Linked DNA regions of Homo sapiens: regions 2 and 3 are each linked to region 1. The links are contacts of gene promoters, found by promoter capture Hi-C in human tissues and cell types (Jung and others, 2019). All regions are on one chromosome and are shown on one strand. The core of a region is centred on a gene start or on the middle of the fragment in contact, and the rest is flanking DNA. Distances in the headings are between cores, read along the strand shown. Region 1 holds the start of ERMAP (erythroblast membrane associated protein (Scianna blood group)). Region 2 overlaps IPO13 (importin 13). Region 3 overlaps RNF220 (ring finger protein 220).

Region 1 (2,778 bases), core at 221-2,720:
AACTAAATTCTTATATTGGCATGAATAGTTCTAAAAAACAATGTAAGCAAAATGCAAAATAAAATGCAGGAATTTTATTAATGTAAAAATTTAAAATACTACTGTATATTGTTCAAGGATATCTATTAATATATTTGAATGTAAAAGTATAAAAAAAAGTAGTTGTCCATGGAGAAGTAAAAGGATGTAAGACAGGAAATGAACAAAGCAGACAGATAAACAAAACAAAGAGGGAAAAAGAGACCAGCAAGATTTTCCCTGACATTAAATACTAAAATAAAATACTTATGTCTGTATGTGGCTCAATATTGGCAGGGTAAAGTTTAAAGCTTTTTATTCTCAAGTTGATTGTAATCGTTGAGAGAACAAAGGAACACACTGGTGAGTTTAAAGCTTGGGCCTCTACCTGGCATGAGTAGCTGCTTTCCGCACCAAATCCAGAACATCTGTACTGGGGGTGTCTGACACTTGCGTGCTCTCTCTCATTCTGACCCCTTCTTTCCCCTTACATATCATTTTTTTTCCTTTCTTCCTTCCCTTGGGTCTCTTACCACAAAAGCTCCGCACCAGACTGGGGTTCTGACACTAACTTGGCATGTGATTCTGGGCTGCCACCTCACCATTCTGAACCTCAGTGTTGTCCCCTCTAAACCTGGGAGAACACCCATCCTGCCTGGAGGCAAGTATGGCTCGCTGTCAGTTCTCCTTTCTGCTGTTTCTCTATTCCAGCATCATCTCCAGCAGACTACAGGCATACAGAGCCTCCGCCTTAATCTCACCTCTGCTCTTTGTCTCTGCTTCAGCTCCTGCTGGGCTGATTTCTGTTTGGCCTTCTCAACTCTGCTGACAGATTCTTTAACTTTGGTTTTTTCTTTACGTGCAGGTGGATCCATGGCTTGACTTCTGGATATTTCTTAGGAGGCTCTGATCTGGGTGGTACAGAAAGAGGCAGATCTTCAAAACAAAACAAAACAAAAAATACCCTGCCAGTTACTCCTCTAATCCTTTAGCTCCGCCCCATCCTTTGCCAGGTGAGGCAGAGTGGTCTGGTGGCAAGGGCGCTGGATGTGGGGGAGTAGGAACCGAGTCCCAAGGCCACAACCTCGCTGGGTGTCCCTGGGCAAGTCTCCTCCCCACTTTGAGCCTTAGTTTTCTGTCTGCAAAATGGGTTAAGTGTTTTCCTGGCCTCCCTCCAGGAGCTGCTGTGTGCGGGTGAAATGCAAAGACCCCTGTGAAAGCGTTGCCCACTGTGCGGCGTGCGGCACCCAGCGCGGAACCGTCCTAATGGGACGCTGAGACCCAGAGGGCGCCCAGGGTTTTCCCACTGCGGCCGGCCTAACTCCGCCGCAGCAGCCGCTCCTGGGGCCAGGGGGCCGGGCCCCATAGCCAGCCGGGCCCGCCCCCCACCGCCCGGCCCCCCGACCCCGCCCCGGCCCGCCCGGCCCCAGGGGACGGCCCCCGCCTCCTGCCCTCTTCCCTCTCCTGGAGGAAAATGGCGGTCGCTGGAGCCGCCGACCAAGAGGCTTGGGAGTCTGTACCTTTCCCGACCGGGCCACTGGAAGTTGGAGCCTCCGCCGAGTCGCAGACAACGCCTCCGGGAGGGTAATCCTCGCCTTCCCCCGACCACTGGACCCAGCGCTGCCTGCCCACCGCCCCTCGTCCTGGGCGGGGCCGCGCGCCGGGGGGAGGGGCGCAGGGCCGAGCGCCAGGAGGCTTCCGCCCGCAGGAGCGGCCGCGCGTGCGCAGAGAGGATGGCTGGAAACCCGCGTAGAGGGCGGGGCGGGGCAAGCCGGTGCCGGGGCGGGGCAGGGGCGGAGCCACACCGGGGTGGGTGGTGGTTACGGCTAACCAAAGCTTTTTCCCGTTATATTTTCTGCAACAGCTACTAGGTTTTAGAGGGTGAGATCCGAATCCTGGAATTGGAATTGCTCAGAATTCGAATTCCGAGGCTCAATTTCTTAATTCGAAAAGTGGGGATTGATGATTGCCACCTTCTTCATTCATGAGTTTATTGGGAGGATCAAGTGAGATCCCGTTTGCCACAGTGCTTTGAAAAAGGAAATCTTGACAGAAGTACCAATAGCCAGTATAAATACAGAGAACATTCACGTTCAACTGATTACCGAGGAGATGTAAATTAAAATAGCTGGCTGTAATTTTCCAGGTATTACATTAGCAAGGATTGACAAAAATGATAATAGCTACCTTACATTTGGGCTTACTATATTCCAGGCACTGTTCTTACAGCTTCACATTTATTAACTAATTCCTCATAATAAGTGTGTATAATGTATACGTGTATATTATTATCCCCATTTACACATAAGGGAACAGAAGCATTGAAAAGTTAAGTGAGTTGTCCCGGGTCACACAGCTTCTAAGTGCTGGAGCAAATATTTCAGCCAGGATTCATAGGACAATGGCCTTATCCAAAGTAAAACCCTGTTTGGGTCCACTATTTGTTCCTCTATCAAACTGGCAAGAATTGAAACAACTGATAGATGCTAAGCAAGCAATGAACTCAGCCCAGATGGACACACGCTTCCAGTCAAACTGTAAATCGTTAACAGCCTTTCTGGAGGTCAGTTTAGTACTAGGTATCAAAAGCCTTAAAAGTGAGCACAATGCCCCAAAAAGACAAATACTGCATGTTTCCATTCATATGAAGTATCTAAAGCAATCAAAGTCTAAGAAACAGAAAGTAGAATGGTGACTGCCAGTGGCTAGGAGAGAGGGAAAAGAGGAATTGTTTAAAGGGTATAGAATTTTAGGTTTGTA
Region 2 (2,700 bases), core at 76-2,575, 1.1 Mb after region 1:
TGTGGAGGCCATTGTGAATGCCATCTCACAGCCTGATGCCCAGAGGTGAGCTAGTACCCACTCACCCAGAAGACAACCTCTTTGGCCAGCCACACATCCATCCATCCATCTGTTCAATAAACATTAATTGAATGTGTACTGATACCTGGTCCTATGCTGGAGATACAGCAAGGAACCAAAGAAGACATGGTCCCTGTCCTCATGGTTCAGACAGGGAGGCAGACATTAAACAACTAATTATCAGTTATTCAATTAAAATATTTGACTCTCTTTTCCTTCTCTCAACTAGTCACCAAGTCCTGGCTGTTCCCCTCCTGACCATATTGCAAATCTATTTTTTTCCATTTCCATTGCTACCACCTTAGTCCAAGCTGTCATCATCTCTCTCCCCAGATTACTGTAGAGCTTGTCCTCACTCTTGTACCCTTCATTGTCCCAGCAGCCACAGTGATCTTTTGAAAATGGGGATCTAATCTTTCTGATCAGAAGCTTTCAGTGGCTTCTCAATGCTCTTAGGTTAAAGCTCAGAATCCTTAATGTGACTCATAATGGTGCTGCACAGTATGGCATCACTGGCCTCATCTCATGCTACTCTCCTTGCTCTCTACACGCTCACACAGTTTCTTTAATTCCTTGAATGTCCCATGTTCCTTTCAGCCTCTGGCTCATTACATATACTTGACACCTTGCCTCAGCTTAAACTTCATTTCCATAGGGAAGTCCTCCATGGATTCTTAAGGCTAAGTTTGATCTTCTCTCTTATATTACCTCAGAGCTCCCAGTATTTTTCCTTCTTAGCCCATAACATGATTTCTCTCACCTCTGTGAGGACAGGGACTCTGTCATTTTACTTTGTCGCATTGTGCTCGGCACATGGTAGCATTTGATATTTTGTGAATGGAGGAAAGTAGGAGTTGCCTGAGTTGGGAGGGGTGGGGCTGGAAGGGATTGGGGGAGGAAGGTGGATTGTTCTAGGCTTTAGGAACCACAGCATGTGCAAAGACTTGTGGGCAGCATCATGATATATTCAAGGGCCCTAAAGAAGTGAGTGTAGTGAAGTGTTTGGCAAATGTTCATTGAGCATGTCCTGTTTTGGGCCCTGTGCTGAGCTCTGGGAGCACAGAGACAAATGCTTTAGCTTCAGTCTCAGGAGCTCACAGTCTAGTGGACACATGAGTGGCAAGTACAATCAACATGATGAATCCTCTGATGGAGAACGCAGGGGCCTTGAAGAACCCAGAGGAGGCTTTCACTGAGTCTGAGGGCTGTGAAAGGATTCGCAGAGGAAGTGACAACCCAGCTGTGTAAGAGTTAGCCAGATGGAAGTGATGGATGGGGAGGACATTCCAGCCCAAGCAAGGGAAGGGTGAAAGCCCAGAGGGTCTGGTGATCTGTAAATCATTAGATGTGATTAGACAGCAAGATTTAAGGGCCAGAGGTATAGGAGACCTGGGCCCAGATCATGCAGGACCTTGGCCAAGTTTAAGATTTTGATCTTCATCCTGAAGACGATATAAAGATATTAAAGGATTATAAGCAGAGAAAATGGCCTACTGAGACTTTTGGTATGAGCTGGATTAGAAGAAGTGAGACTGGAGGTCCTGATGCTGACATTTCAGAGATGGGGCTTTGGGACCTTTGGCAGAATTGGAAGGGAAAACCATTGAAAGAGACTTCATGGAAGAGTGGCTGATGACTCAAGCCTTGGCATTAGTCACATCTAAGTTTGAATCCCAGATGGTTCACTTATTAGATCTGAAATCTTGGATCAGCCATTCCTAAGGCTCCGTTTCCTCATCAATAAAATGGGGATGATCATATCAACCCCACAGAGTTGAAAAGGTTTAAACAGGATAATGTGCACAAGTCCTGCCCCTGGTGTTCGGTAGAGAATATTTTGACTCCTTGAGTAATGGGAGTTCTTTTGTGGTCTCTGCTAGGGTTGGGATGGTCAGTAGCATGCATTTGTACCTTTGGGTTATTGATACGTTACATGTTTTAAAATGGGAACTGTGTGTATATGTTCTACCTTTATACTTTATGTGATCAGTTAATGGTAATTGTTTATTTATTTATTTTGAGACAGAGTCTCACTCTGTCACCCAGGCTGGTGTGCAGTGGCACAATCTCGGCTCACTGCAACCTCCGCCTCCCGGGTTCAAGCGATTCTCTTGCCTCAGCCTCCAGAATAGCTGGGATTACAGGCGTGCATCACCACGCCCAGCTAATTTTTGTATTTTTAGTAGAAACGGGGTTTTGCCATGTTGGTCAGGCTGGTCTTGAACTCCTAACCTCAGGTGATCCATCTGCCTCCGCCTCCCAAAGTGCTGGGATTACAGGTATGAGCCACCATGCCTGGCCAACTGTTCATTTTTTTAAAGAGAAACATAGTTACTATTAAATGGATTAAGGCTGTTTACTTTTAGTACTGGTCATAAGAAGTAGAACTGGAATCATGCAATAGAAAGTGGGCCTAGTTGTTCAGTGGCTAAATTTGAAAAGGAGTTGGTTTCCTATATATATATGTGTGTGTATACATACATATATTTATATGTATATGATACACACACACACATAGATAATGTGCTTAATCACTGCCTTTTGAAACTTTAAATAAAATATTGGGTTGATTTTAAAAAATAAAAGATTGTTTCGGTATGAGGATTAAATAAGAGAATGTGAAGCTTTTAGCATGGTTCC
Region 3 (2,700 bases), core at 59-2,558, 1.8 Mb after region 1:
TTTTTAATCAGTGCCCAGTAGTGTGAATACAGCCCCTCTGCTGAGACTTGACAATACAGTGAGATCTGGAGTTCCCACGGCAACAGGAACTAACTCATCCCAGGGCTCTTTGAGTTATCAGTCGGCCCACATTTCACAAAGGTGATCAGCGTGGGCTCGACAGCTCTTAGAGGCCTTCTCTGAAAGCAGGCCGTGTATGCACTACCTAGCAGCCCCCCTTTTGGATTCAAACCTCTGGAGCATTCCTGTTTGCTGAATACAATTGAATGATCCTAGCTTTTTGTGCTTACTGGGGTGTGGTATCTGGGGGGTGGCTGTAAGGGGTTTAGGGTCTCTGGGTCAGCTGGTAAGTGAGAGAGGCCATGGAGTTCAAGATCCCCAGCTCTTATCACTTGGTTTCTGCTGCCAGGCTGAGCCCTAGTCTGGAAAAGGGAGAAATTCATGATGGGCTGGCGCCATGTTAAGCACCATTCTCACAACGCCTCTGAGAAGAGTATTACACACCTTTTGTGAATAAGAAAACAGGCTCTGAGAGGTGAAAGTGGTTTGTTTAAAAGTACACAGCTGGGATGTAACTGAGCCATGATTCAATTGAAGTTTGTTTCCCACCAAAGCCCGTGTTTCTCCAACCATGCCATGCTACCTCCTTGGCAAATGCTTTGATTCTTCCTACTCGTACGTAGCCTCTGGATAGAGAACAGAACTTTCCCTACCACACTTTGGTAAGCTTAATTCAGGATTTAGAAGATGAATGGGAAGGTGAAAACCAAACCTGCCTTCCTTCTCTGAGAATTTGCAGATGAAGCCCAGTCCATTGGGGTGCTTTCCAGGGACAACAAGGGATCATCTGCTGGCCTGTGTGTCCTGAGCAAGGAGCGCATCCAGTATTGTGCCTTTCTTGACCATTCCATGAGATTCGTTTCCTTAGTCATTGAACATTGTGGTATCATCAGCACCTTCTTCCCCAGGGAGGCATTCCCTTGGTGTAGGCATGGTAGGGAGGAAGCTTTGTGTTGGCACACTGCTCCTTACTACACTTCTAGAACTCTCAGGGTCCTTTGCTCAATGCCTTTCTGATGTTTCACGTCCATTCTCCATCCCAGCCCTGGCTCTAGAGTGTCAAGGCTACCTAAGTCTGAGATTCCAAGAGTTAGGGCAGCCAAAATGAAGAGTTCTCGATCTGTGTCCACAAAGTCAAGTGAGGCACTAGGACACAGTCATGTCACCTATAGTGAAGACACAGGAAAGTGAAGAGATGGACTGGGCTACAGACCAAGTTTCCTCAAACTCCATGCCCAGTTCTGGCAGGATGGTAGCTTTCCTTTTGGTTTGGGTCTTTCTGGGGTTGCTCTGTTTTGGAGTTGGAGTAGCTCCCTGCCTCAGGCTCACAACAGGCAGGAGCTGGAGCCCTAGCACACTCACTGGGACCAGTCTTTGTTGATGCTGCTCAGTTAGGAGGTCCCCTTGAAACAGGAGGGCATTCTAGGTTGTGAAGTCAGTTCTGGTTTCCTATCTTGCCTTTGCCACTTTTTAGCTACTTGGACACGTACCTTGATCTCTCTAAGCTTTGGGTTTCTTCATCTGTTAAAATGGGATAATGCAATCTAGCTTCAGCAAGTGGTAGTAAATGAGCTACCTTGGGTAAGGTACTTGGCTGTGAGCCTGACACACGGTAGAAGCTTAAATTGTAACATAGCAGCTCTCACCTGTGTTCCCCTCCTAGATTGCATTCATGAGCTTCCCGTTAGGGTCACTGTCCATGAGAAAGTTCTTCCTGGCCCTGCTTTGGGGAACCTTTCCCTCCTTTGCTGGCTCTCCCCACTCCCCATCAGTCTGGTCCCAGAGTAGCCATCTCTGATCCTGCTGTGGCATTCTGGAAGGGACTAGAGGGAAGAGAGTTTCTTGTTTTGACCCCTTCCTGCTTCAGTGACAGGAGGGCTACAGAGAGGGATTAGTGAGCTAATTAGAAATGATTGCATTGCTCAGCATTAATTAGCAGTGTTGTGGGCTTGCAGTGTGCACTTTGGAACTGAGCCCCCTGTGGGACAACATGGCAGGCAGCCCTCTGCCTCCAGGGCCTGCCAGCCCCTCTGTACTGATTAGAAATGATGGAACAGGTTCGGGTGGGCACAATAAGGGCTGCCTTCTCAGGGTTCCCTGAGCCTTCTGACCTGGCTGCCAAAGGTCTGACCCAGACCGTCTTACCTTTATGACTGGGCCTCAGTCTCCTCTTCTGTGAAATGGGATTAGTGGACCTCAGAGAAATTCTTCCTGATAAGATTCTAGGTGGGATGCTAGGAGCTGTACCTCAGGGCTCTTGGCCCAGGAACCAAAGAGGATTTAGCTGATGAGTGAACAGCAGGCCAAGTCAGGCCATCGGAGGGGTTAGGTTCTAGTCAAGAGATGCTCTTTAGAGTTGTATTTCCTGACACCAAAAGAGTTCATGGTCTTGGCCTTCTGGAGAGATACCTAGCAACATGGAGTGTCTTTGCTCACTGGATTTTTATTAAACACTGCAAATAGAAAGGTATGGGTAGACCTTGCACCAGCTGCAGCCAAAGAGTGGACTTACTCACTGGCTTAGTTAGCACCAGTCTCCTCCCCAGGTGCTCTTGGCAAAGCCCAGTCCCCAAAGGAGCAGGAGGTATTTCAAGATGAGGGCCAGATCAGGCACTGAATAAAAAGGCCAATGGCTGGCAA

What was found. The method cuts DNA at HindIII sites, captures the fragments that hold promoters and counts their contacts. A contact is called where the count stands out against the background at its distance.
Region 2: a fragment that was not itself captured here is called in contact with the fragment with the promoter of ERMAP in region 1 in 1 of the 25 tissues and cell types used here (hippocampus).
Region 3: a fragment that was not itself captured here is called in contact with the fragment with the promoter of ERMAP in region 1 in 1 of the 25 tissues and cell types used here (mesenchymal stem cells).

What each region holds. Positions count from the first base shown.
Region 1 is chr1:42,815,652-42,818,429 of GRCh38, forward strand. ERMAP (erythroblast membrane associated protein (Scianna blood group)) reads left to right here and starts at 1,471. Exons shown (of 12, transcript NM_001017922.2): 1 at 1,471-1,602. It overlaps SVBP (small vasohibin binding protein), which reads right to left and starts at 1,746. Exons shown (of 3, transcript NM_199342.4): 1 at 1,539-1,746; 2 at 780-929. The coding sequence starts at 893. RefSeq lists silencers at 620-689, 1,250-1,449, 1,600-1,889. The HindIII fragment of the contact is 4,586 bases long and covers 98-2,778 here.
Region 2 is chr1:43,950,109-43,952,808 of GRCh38, forward strand. It overlaps IPO13 (importin 13), which reads left to right. Exons shown (of 20, transcript NM_014652.4): 2 at 1-45. Among named protein-coding and RNA genes, the nearest start is that of IPO13, 4.5 kb to the left of the region's middle. The HindIII fragment of the contact is 3,680 bases long and covers 1-2,700 here.
Region 3 is chr1:44,632,755-44,635,454 of GRCh38, forward strand. The region is part of intron 6 of RNF220 (ring finger protein 220); the gene reads left to right. It overlaps LOC107984950 (a long non-coding RNA gene), which reads right to left. Exons shown (of 2, transcript XR_001738031.2): 2 at 2,484-2,700. Among named protein-coding and RNA genes, the nearest start is that of SNORD145, 37 kb to the right of the region's middle. RefSeq lists an enhancer at 12-559. The HindIII fragment of the contact is 4,886 bases long and covers 1-2,700 here.